3 separate regions of the Homo sapiens genome follow, and regions 1 and 3 are each linked to region 2. Evidence: promoter capture Hi-C in human tissues and cell types (Jung and others, 2019). All regions are on one chromosome and are shown on one strand. Each heading gives the region's core, a stretch centred on a gene start or on the middle of the fragment in contact. The rest is flanking DNA. Distances are from core to core; before and after follow the strand shown. Region 1 has its middle 25 kb from the start of DYNC1I2. Region 2 holds the start of METAP1D (methionyl aminopeptidase type 1D, mitochondrial). Region 3 has its middle 73 kb from the start of CYBRD1.

The links. The method cuts DNA at HindIII sites, captures the fragments that hold promoters and counts their contacts. A contact is called where the count stands out against the background at its distance.
Region 1: a contact is called between a fragment that was not itself captured here and the fragment with the promoter of METAP1D in region 2, in 1 of the 25 tissues and cell types used here (mesendoderm cells).
Region 3: a contact is called between a fragment that was not itself captured here and the fragment with the promoter of METAP1D in region 2, in 1 of the 25 tissues and cell types used here (liver).

What each region holds. Positions count from the first base shown.
Region 1 is chr2:171,660,887-171,664,699 of GRCh38, reverse strand. No RefSeq gene overlaps it. Among named protein-coding and RNA genes, the nearest start is that of DYNC1I2, 25 kb to the left of the region's middle. The HindIII fragment of the contact is 6,967 bases long and covers 1-3,813 here.
Region 2 is chr2:171,997,181-172,001,242 of GRCh38, reverse strand. METAP1D (methionyl aminopeptidase type 1D, mitochondrial) reads right to left here and starts at 1,290. Exons shown (of 10, transcript NM_199227.3): 1 at 1,234-1,290. The coding sequence starts at 1,273. It overlaps LOC124905590 (a long non-coding RNA gene), which reads left to right and starts at 1,334. Exons shown (of 3, transcript XR_007087296.1): 1 at 1,334-1,564. RefSeq lists a silencer at 1,296-1,595. The HindIII fragment of the contact is 22,489 bases long and covers 1-4,062 here.
Region 3 is chr2:171,593,970-171,597,751 of GRCh38, reverse strand. No RefSeq gene overlaps it. Among named protein-coding and RNA genes, the nearest start is that of CYBRD1, 73 kb to the right of the region's middle. The HindIII fragment of the contact is 6,784 bases long and covers 1-3,782 here.

The sequences.
Region 1 (3,813 bases), core at 632-3,131, 340 kb after region 2:
CCCTGTACTTTATCTTATTTTCTACTTCAGTTTTCTCACATCATGTTTATTTTTTAAAATATTGAAATGTGTGTCTAATTGTAAGTGACCTTGGATCCTTTATGGAATGAGGTGGAGTAAAAATAATGGTTAAGTAGCTATTTAAACATTTCAAATTTTAAAAAGTACTGATTTTATTTCCAACATGCTTTATTATCTGCGAACTACTTACAAAGAAAAGGGCTAGTACAAATTATGTGCATATTTATGACATTTTGGGGCTATTCTGTAAAGCTGGGTTATTTTTTAGGAGGAACTCCTTGACAATGATTATTGTTAAGCCTAGGATTCAAGTGATGAGGGACATTATTAGATTTCCTCTGGAGGTCTGCATATAAAAAATTAAGACCCTTAACTACCGACATGATCGAAGCAGTTTTGCTAGATGAAGAGGGCCCAATCAATCAATTATTTATTCAAAATCTTACTTCTTATTTTTCTACACACTGAGCAGGGCAGAAAAATATGAGATTCAGATCTTGCCCAAAAGGAGTTTACAACTGAAATGGAGAAACACCCCCAGCCCCATATATACAACAATCAGATAAAAGTCCCATACTCTACCTGATGAAGGCAGCTATGGGATGAACTCCCAGTTTTCCCATTTGTAGTACAGGGAATTTGGGCTGGCTGGATAATTCCTTGGTTCTGGCAGTGCTTTAACCTTCTGAAATCCTGTGGTGCGTACTTCTAACACTGAAAGTCTGTCATTATTTCTTCTCCACTTATCCATTTTAATAAGGTTAAAATACAGACCTTAAATAACACAGAAAATCCAGAACCTAGGCAAGTCCTGATAGATCAGACTACTCAAGTGATGTATTTTTTAGGTACCTTTATTGGGGGCAAACTGCACATCACTGCAGAAAAAAGCTTATGTTAGGTTGGGATTTATCAAAACAAAAGATAACTTCTAGGATAAATTGTGAGTTCCTCTCTTAAACCTTTAAGATCTACAACTAACAAATGAGGCTCAGGATGGTTAGTTTGAGGCACGAGAAGATCCTGATTTACAAAAGATTCAAATATGATCACTGTGCCATACTTGTGAAAGAAAGCACATGGCACACAGTAGGTGCTCAATAAATGTTTATTGAATGAAATAAAATGAATGAGTGAATGAATAAAGGAGTGAGTGAATGAATGAATTATTTTCATCTAAGTGTTTCGGGCTGGGTTCCCTGCAAAGCTGAGTCAGAAGGCACTGACCAGGAGGACCAGGGAGAGGAGGAAGGGGAGGATGAAGGCCAAGGAGAAGTTGAGCCTGGTGCAGTCCTAATGAAGGCCTCAGCTCACCATAGTGAGAGTTCTGGAACTGGAGTAGTTCTGAAGTATAGCTCCAAGCTGGTATAGCTCCAAGTTGGTATAGCTCCAAGCTGGCCTTTGTACCCATTTTGATCAGTGTTAGCTATGAGCTCCCCATAGAAGGAACCCTGCCATGGACAAAGCAGCTTCTTTCAGCTGAGGCAATCCCCAAAGAAGGCTAACAGCTAAGACTTCCTTCTGGCAGCTCTCCCAGGAGTCCAGGGAATAAGTCTGCAATGGATTGAATGGTGGCCCCCCAAAAGATATGTCCCCATTGTAACCCCCAAAACCTGTGAATGTGACCTCATTTGGAAAAAGGATCTTTGTAGATGTAAATAAGGACCCCGAGAAGAGATCATCCTGGATTACCTGGGGGTTCCCTAAATCCAATGACAAGTGTCCCTATAAGAGATAGAAGAGGAGACTACCCAGAGACACAGAGGAAAAGGCCATGTGAAGACAGAGGCAGAGACTGGAGTCATGCAGCCACAAGCCAAGAAATGCCTGGAGCCATGAGAAGCTAGAAGAAACATAGAGGATTCTCCTCTAAAGCCTTCAGAGAAAGCACGGCCCTGCCTACACATTGATTTCACACTTTTGGCCTTCATGGCTATGAAAAAATAAGCCCATGTTGTTTCAGGCCATTCAGTTTGTGGTAATTTTTGTGGCAGCCCTAGGAAACTAACACAAAGTCCTTCTTCCTGACGGGCATCTGGGTAACTTATCACAGTGTCCACGAAAGATTCAGTTTAATGGGATTTCTGGTTAAAGCTATGAAAACTCAGAAATCTTTCTTTTGGAATATTTCAATTCGATTAAGTTTTTTTGTGTGTGTGTGTGAGGGGTACTGCTCAAAAGAAGTGATAAAAAAATGGACACTAGTAATCTTAACAATCATTATTCGTACCCATAGAATTAATCCAGACTCCGAGGTTGGTATCTGTTCTCATTGTAAAATGACCTAATTAACTGACAGGACCCCCACAGAATTCCTGAAGAGGAAGGCTTAATTGGTATTCTTTGAGAAAGACCTACCCTACTTACTTTACATCTTACCTAAAAATGGTATTTTTGCTGTAGTATATCATATTTCCAAAAAGAACTATTTCTTGGTTTGAAGGTAGCAGCCATACATTTATAGATTTTTACCCAGAGTAATCCAAATTACACACATTATGTGACTGTAATTGCTTATAAACTATGTATGCTATAATTTAATTGTATTTTGAATAAGTGATTTGCATTTTGTAAGGAGCATTTGGTATTTAGCCACTAAGTCACTGGGAGAAAAGAAATCATAATGATATGGAAGGTTTTAAAATATTTACATTTCAACTAAGTAAAGATGGGAACATCCCAGGTTTTTCTTACAGAGAATTAAAGTAATCTTTACCATCCAGAAATAATGCCCCATCAAGAAAATTACATTTGTGCTATTTGAAAGGAGAGGGAGGATATCTATGAAACATAAAGGACAGAATTGAAGGTGGAAAATCAGCATAGCTTATTTGTGAAAAGGCTCTCGTTCCCGTGAAATTTTGATGTATTCTTTACATCCTCAAATTGTTTCCCTTCATTGTTGAGTGTCACAAGGCAGAGAAATCTGGAAGTACCACGCCGTGAATGGGACTGAATTCGTTTCAAAAATATTTCAAAATAGGTAATTACGAACAGATAATTGAAATTCTTATTTAGCAATCAGTATTATTTCAAATGACTGCAAGATTCTTTTTTTCACATCTAGGCAGTACTAACTGGTTACATCAAACACACACAAAAATGTTATATCTGGGAATGTTAAAAACATTGATTAAAATAAAAATCCTGATACCTGGGCTTCAGGCCAATTTTGTAATGCTTTTAAATCAAAGGTGGTCTTACTGATGGTATAGGAAAGGAAAAAGAAAGTGAATATAGCAGGAAGGAACAAAGAGAGAATGACAGGGAGAGGAAGAGATGGGAGAAAGGAAGACTGGGGAGAGGGGAGGAGTGGAATCGAATGAAAACCACAGACAGACAAACATTCAAGTAGCAGAGATTTTCAGTCTTAAACTCTTCTAGAGAATAAACAGATTAAGAGCATGACTTAACTCATTTTTGAAGCTAGTATAGCCTTAATACCAAAAGCAAGCAAGGGCAGTATAAGAAGGAAAATTTACAGGGCAGTTTTTCTCATGAATATAGGTGTACAAATCACAGAAAAAGTATAGGCAACCCAACCCGGGTGTAGTGGTGCAGCCTGTAGTGGGAGACCGAGGCGGAAGGATCTCTTGAGCCCAGGAGTTCGAGGCTGGAGTGAGCTATAATGATGCCACTGCACTACAGCCTGGGCAACAGAGTGAGACCCCATCCAAACAAACAAACAAACAAAAATTTGGCAGCCTGAATCCAGCAATGTATAAAAAAGATAATAAGCCATGATGAGGTTAGTTTTATTTCAGGAAGTCAGTTAGTTTAACATCAGAAAAT
Region 2 (4,062 bases), core at 41-2,540:
TACACACTCATCCTGCACTGTCTCTGCTGAACTTTACACACTGACTTCTATGGAGTGACCACGTCATGCAGTACCGAGAAATGAGTCTTAAAAAAAAAAATTAGAGTCATGTTCAAATGAGCAATCTGCCTCTTACCATTTATGCGACCTTAGTAATGTTACTTAACCTCTCTAGCCTTACTTTTCCCTTCTGCAAAGAGAAAATAATTCCTAACTCACTGGGTTTTTGTTTTTGTTTTTGAGACAGGGTCTGGCTCTATTGCCAAGTCTGGAGTTCAGTGGTACGATCACGGCTCACTGCAGCCTCTTGACCTCCCAGGCTCAAGCGATCCTACCACCTCAACCCCCAGAATAGCTGAGACTACAGGCATGTGTCACCACGCCCGACTAATTTTTAAAATTTTTTGTAGAGACGGGGTCTCATTCATTGAGTTTTAAAAGGAAGCAAGCATATGTAAGGCGCTTAACACAGTATCGTGTACTTAAAAGGCACTTAATAAACAGTAGCTGTTACTATGAAAATAATATTTACCTCACAAAACTGTTCCTACATGCCTGACGCTTAAGTAGCTCCTCAAAATATGATAGTTTTCCTCTTCCCCCGTCCTTGGAAAAACTTTCTAGTTCTTTCCAACAAAGATTCAGCACCTAGTTCAAATCCAACAAAGATTTCCCCAATTCTGCTGCAAAGGCATTTGTATATTTACTAAAATCTCAACACTCACGCAGGATAAAACCTACTTAGAACTACCCAGACATCCTTTCTTATCTTCTTAACTTTAAGTCACTGGAAGAAAACCATCACATTTTGCAAGTCCCCAAAAAGCATGCCTGCATAAAAGCTCTAGGGAAGGGAACCGGGTGTCCAGATGCATTTCAGAATTACCATAGGTTTCCTTGCTCGGCATACAGAATAAATGTTGGTTACACTAATGATACAACCGAAGTTGGGGAAAAAAACTTCAGACAATGGCCCGCAAATCTCAAGGAGTAATTGCGAAAAGATGCCACGTGGTGACGTGTTCTAGGCGGGTGATCAGTGAACAAATTTGTATGTGTGATCCTGTGGTGTGTGAATGTGTCATCGTGTGTGCCTGCGTGTGTTCGTAAACACTGAAAGTACAGTCGTGTGCGCCGAGAAGTCTGAGCGCGGGTGCGCATCCCTTTGGACCCGGGTGCGTACCTAGTGAGCAACCGTGCGAACCCTCACGGGGCTCTCCTCCACGCGCTTACCTCTGCGGACGAGCAGGTGGACGCCACTGGGCGCCGCCATGTTGGCGTCGGTCACGTGGCCGCGAGCACTCGCTCGCCGCCCCGCCCGCTGGAGCCGGCCAGTCGCAGCCCTGCCGAAGCCCTGAGGCGTCGAGGCCGCCCGAGGGGAGCGCGCGTGCGCGCGCGGGGCTGACTGCGGGAGCCCTGGCTGGGAAGCGGCTAGGGCACCCGGGCAAGCAGCAGAACCCGCGGCCGGCTGAGTCCTCTCCAGCCGCGAGAGGCGGGCTCCAGCCGCGGCTCGCGCGCTCGCTCTGAGCCCCCGCGCCCAGGTGGGATGGAAGAAGCCTGTCAGGTAAGCGTGGCATCCAATATTTATAGCATCAACATTTTGGTGCATGGAAACGTGAAGTTGGGCGGAAAAAATAAAGCACAATCTAGTGTTCAACATAGCACTTTGTATCGTCTGCCACTCTGTTGCAAATTATTCCCCTGGATTCAGTTGAAAGGTAAAATTTGGTTCAAAGTCACCAGCTCCCCTTTTGCTGTCCCAGAATCTACATTACTCAGCAGAGACTCCAGACAACACAGGATCTGTGTGTCGCTGCAAAATCTATTCTAGGTACCCCAGTGGGTATGTTCAGGAGACTTCTCTTTCTCCAAGGACGCCTTCTGCTTGGCAGTATTAACTGGAGTCTTAATCCTAAATTTGGAGTTTAAGTATAAAAGGATGACGCCTGCCAATTGCATTGCCAAGAGAAGAAGCCTACAGAAGGCCAATTGTGAATCAGATGAGGGAGCTGATGTATGCCTACTGATGACGGTGCCCATTTTTACCAAATTCACTGTCTCTCTTACCTGTGTTCTGGGGTAGATGCCATCCTGTCATGGACCAGGTGTTATTCATCTTAGTAGCCTCCGTGCCCGGCACAGAACCCGATACCCGAGGAATGTCAGGTGAAGCAATTGAACACTGCATGAAACCAGTCAAACTGAGAATGTAACCGTTTCCAGACTTTAAATGCAGTGAAGATTGATTAGGATTCTCAGTGAATGTGTGTGATGTCTTCTAATTAATTTTTAAGCACTACACACTCAGTGAATAATCTAGACAATTCAGAACAATTCAGAAATAAGGAACAAGTGCAAGCCCCTTCCTCGCCCTCTGTACATACCATAGTCCCACTCCCCAGTTAACCACCGTGTGCTCAATTGAGATCTTTGCCTTTTACACACAGGCAAATGTAAGTATTTTAAATAGAATCATATGACTTGCTTTTTCCATTCCAGTCATCATAGGCATCAAATCTTAGAACACTTAGTTCAGACTTATTCTTTTTAATGACTATATAATCTTGATATTTTTACTTTTAAAGAGAGTGAATGTTGGCATTTCATTAGAGGACACATGCTATAATTCTGGAAAACCTGGTTTTGGATGCTTTTGGGTCACCTTGAAAGATAAAGAGAAGTAATGCTTTCCATCAGGGTAAATAAGATGCACAAGAATGAGAATAAAATGTACTCCTACCTTTTGCAAACTCATTTCAATTCCAGGGAGAGCATTTTTGAATGTGGCAAATCTGTCCTCTGTGTAACTGAGGCCAGCAATCTGAGTGCAGCAAAGGAGCCTGAGAGTTAGCTGGCCACAGAGTCTTAAGCAGTGTACAGAAAAAAGAAATCTAGACATCCCTATTCCTTAAGGCATCAAGCCTAGTTTCAAACCCATCTGAAATAGAACACATGTTCATGTGACTTAACTCAGCCAACCCTTGGAAAATAAATGAATGCTTTATTCCCCTACAACTAAAAGGAAAAGGAAACACTATGAGGACCCAGGTGGCACCAGCAGTAGTGGAATCCAGTGAGGAAATCCTCAATAAGTTCGGCATGGAATGTAGATATCTGGGATGAGCTAGAAATGAAGCAAATATGAACTTGCACAGGTGATAGCTCATCCACTGACCCTGGATCTGGCTTCTCTCATACACATCCTTCTCACCGCAGAAGGGTTAAAAGCTGCCAGCACATGTCCGCCAAAACCATCAACTTATGGGATATAAGCTGGGTGTGGTGGCTCATGCCTGTAATCCCAGCACTTTGGGAGGCGAACGCAGGCAGATCACTTGAGGTCAGGAATTCGAGACCAGCTTGGGCAACATGGTGAAACCTGTCTCTACTAAAAATACAAAAATTAGCCAGGCATGGTGGTGCATGCCTGCAATCCCAGCTACTCAGAGGCTAAGGCGGGAGAATCACTTGAACCTGGGAGGCAGAGTTTACAGTGAGCCGAGATCCTGCCACTGCACTCCAGCCTGTGCCACAGAGGAAGATTCTCTCAAAAAAAAAAAAAAAAGGGATATATACATAGTGACCAACAAGATAAAGGGCTAGATCACTGATATCTAGGATCCCTTGCAATTTTAACATTCTGTGATCTTGAGCATTAGAGTGCTTTTATTTAGATGAGTAACCGCTACTGAGTCACTTCTCTACTCCATTTCTGTCCGTGCTCCTATCTGTGAAATGAAGGTTAATTATATTATGGCACTTCACTGATTTGAATTCTTACCATTAGTCAGATTTTGTACTTAGGATTCTTGAATAAAAAATTGAATAATTCGGCCGGGTGCAGTGGCTCACACCTGTAATTCCAACACTTTGGGAAGCCAAGGCAGGAGGATTGCTTGAGCCCAGGAGTTGGAGACCCAGCTGGGCAACATAGTGAGACCCCGTGTCTACAAAAAATTTACAAACTAGCTAGATGTGGTGGCACATGCATATAGTCCCAGCTACTTGGGAGGCTGAGGCAGGAGGAGCGCTTGAGCCCCGGAGTTTGAGGCTGCAGTGAGC
Region 3 (3,782 bases), core at 694-3,193, 400 kb after region 2:
ATCTTGTTAATAGGAAGTTTTAATTCAACTGAATAAATTCAATTCAATAAATTTTCAGAACAATTTGATAAATGTCTCATGAAGCCAATGTATAATAAAGTATTTTATCATTTGAGCACTTGATCTGTGCATAACACTCCCCTGGAGTCTGTGGATGATCCAAAAGAAAAAATAGGGAAAACTCCTAAAAAAATTATCTGGCCTTGTTAGAGAGGTAGGATTTATATGTATAGAATAATTATAGGAAATGACTAGAGGATTTCTGAGGATGGTTTAAAAAAAAATAAAAAGGAGAGTTGAAAAGGGACTTACAAAAAAAAAGGTAGCCCAAGGTTTTGCTCTAATCTAATGTTGTTGATAATGACAGTGTAAGATCTCAGAAAATGATAACCCAAAATGAAGACCTCAGAAGCAGCTCTCTCTGACCTTCTTCTCGCCTCCTGTCACTGGCCTCTCATTCTCCCCCAAGGCTAGCTACTGAAGAAACTCTTTGGCAAGGTGCATCTCAGAAACCAAAATCCATTTCCCCTAAAGCCAGCCATAAAACCTAAACATATTATTCTAACTCCACTCCTCCACCCACATCACCTTTCTGTGTAAAAACTGGCCATAAAGAAGCAATTTGACCTAGTTTGTCTGATTGTAGGTCATAAGATCTCCCCATTCCAGAGAGGGTCCAGCCCCATACCCAAGAGGAAGGAAGGCTGCACAGAGGCCAAGAAGAACCTAAATAGAGGCCAGGTGTGTTGGCTCACACCCGTAATCCCAACATTTTGGGAGGCCAAGGTGGACGGATCACCTGAGGTTGGGAGTTTGAGACCTGATGAAACCCATCTCTACTAAAAATACAAAAATTAGCTGGGTGTGGTGGTGCGCACCTATAATCCCAGCTCCTTGGGAGGCTGAGACAGGAGACTCACTTGAACCCAGGAGGCAGAGGTTGCAGTGAGTGGAGATCACACCACTGCACTCCAGCCTGGGTGACAGAGTGAGACCCCATCTCAAAAAATAATAATAATAAATTAAACATAAATAAATAATAAATAAATAATAGACAGGCCTTCTTGGGTTTCCCCACTCAGTCTATTATAGCTCATAGCCTTTCCGTCCACATTTTGGTGAACCTAAGCATGAAAGTAGACAGTTTCATCCGTATCTTTGGGTCTTCATTCCGAAGGCTCCTGTGTCATGTAAAACTATGGTCAAATACATTCATATGCCTTTTCTCCTATTACTCTGCCTTTTGTCAGTTGATTTTTGCAAACCTTTAGGGGCCACGGGGAAGTTTTCCCTTGGCTCTTATAACAGCTAACACAGGGCTTAGTACACAGCCAGCCTTTGTATGAGGCACTCACACTTTACCTCATTTAGGCTCATATTCTTGGGCAGGAAAATCGAGATCATAGTGGCCTGTATATTTTTCTCCCATATTTTAACTGTAGACACCAGGAATATCACTCCTCAAGCTTGCCTCACTCAACCTGAGCTGGTCTTTGCACACATACACGTGCCTGTGAGGAGGTGGTGGGGGAGTATGGGGAGACTGGGAAGATGTAATGGAAGCAAGACTCACCCAAAGGAAGCCCTTGGGCTAACTCACTATGGTGAGACTTGGTGTGAACTGGTGAGCTGAGCCAATGTACTTTTTTCTCTAGGGAAACTGATTTGCAAATACAGAAGGAATTATCTGCCTGGAAGAGGAGAGAGAAGGGAGCAAAGGCATAAAGAGCAAGAAGCTGAATCACATTAATGGCTAAACGCCAGCAGAAAGCTCCTGTGACTCAACCTGACTCTCCATTCTGATTTTTCCAAGGTCTAGTTATTTAGATTTTTCAAGTCCTCTTTGCACATTTATTCTTTTATAGCTAGCATGAATTTCAGAGTCTTAGGACTCAGATATGCAAAAATGTTTTTCTAATTCAAACTGTAGCATTTAGTTTAGACTCAGTCTCTTCTGGGTAAGTAAACATCAACTATGAAATTCTCCCTTCCTTCTTCTCCTTCCTTTCTCCCTGGAGAGATATGAATTCCCAGGTGGAACACAATGGGAGTGTCCATGGAGTGCTGGCATTAGGAGGAGCTCTGGTCTGAGCTTTGCTCACCCTCCCCAAGGGACCCACATGGTCCTAAATGATCTTTCTACCACATGCCTGGCTGATGGCTCTGACCCCAACAGCTCTGAGGCTGGTCCCATACTCTGCCTCTTCCTCCTTCTGTGGCCTAAATAGTCACCTCCACTTTCTCTTGGAGGGTCAAGGGCTCTTGGTTTTGTTCCCTGGACCATGCTGGCATTCACTGGCTTTTGAGAGGATTTCCCATTTTATGGAAAATCTAGAATCTGCCTGGACCTGTCCCTCAGCCACCACAGTCTGTTCAGGAACTGTTGAAGGTGGCACTTAAAATATATATATTTTAAATTTTTAACTTTTATATTAGATTCAGGGGTACATGTACAGGTTTGTTATATAGCTAGACTCACATCATGGGGGTTTGTTGTACGGATCATTTCATCTCCCAGGTATCAAGCCTAGTACTCAAGTGTCATTTTCTTTCTTTCTTTTTTTTTTTTTTTTTTTTTTTTTTTTTGATGGAGTCTTGCTCCGTCGCCCGGCTGGAGTGCATTGGAGTGATCTTGGCTCACTGCAACCTCCAACTCCTGGGTTCAAGCGATTCTCCTGCCTCAGCCTCCTGAGTAGATGGGATTACAGGCACGTGCCACCATGCCTGGCTAATTTTTGTATTTTTAGTAGAGATGGGGTTTCGCCATGTTGGTCAGGCTGCTCTCGAACTCCCAACCTTGTGATCCGCCCGCTTGGCCTACCATAGAGCTGAGATTACAGGCATGAGCCACTGCTCCCAGCTCAAGTGTTATTTTCTCTGCCGTTTTCCTCCTCCCATCCTCCACCCCCAAGTAGACCCCACTGTCTGTTGTTCCCTTCCTTGTGTCCACGTGTTCTCATCATTCAACTCCCACTTATAAGTGAGAACATGTGGTTTTTGGTTTTCTGTTCCTGTGTTAGTTTGCTAAGAATAATAGCCTCCAGCTCCATCCATGTTCCTGCAAAAGACATTTTTTATGGCTGTGTAGTATTCCATGGTATATATGGACCACATTTTCTTTATCCAATTGGATGCAGCACTTTCTTTCTTTCTTTCTTTTTTTTTTTTTTTTTTTTGAGACAGAATCTCGCTCTGTCACTAAGGCTGGACTGCAGTGGCATGATCTCGGCTCACTGCAAGCTCCGCCTCCCGGGTTCAAGCAATTCTCCCTGCCTCAGCCTCCCAAGTAGCTGGGATTACAGGCACCCACCACCACGCCTGGCTAATTTTTGTATTATTTAGTAGAGATGGGATTTTACCATGTTGGCCAGGCTGGTCCTGTACTCCTGACCTCAGGTGATCCACCCGCCTCAGCCTCCCAAAGTGCTGGGATCACAAGCGTGAGCCACCGTGCCTGGCAATGCAGCACTTTTCTATGAAACCTGTGCTCTCCCCAACTGCAACACTGGGGATTGGGCACAGCCTTTCTGTCTGGGTCATCACTTCCATGAGTCTTTTCAAAAGATGTGCTTTACTGTTTCTTCATTTTCTAGTTCATTATTTTTTTCCCTTATGATTCCCATCCTTCCACTTTCTTTAGGTTTATCCTATTGTTCTGTTCCTATTAGCTAAATATTTGGATGCTCTTTTAACGACATATTTGACTTAGATTTATTGGTGGGTAGGTAATACAGATGGTGTAAATTCTGGCTTAAACACTTGTGATAACAAACTTGTGGTTA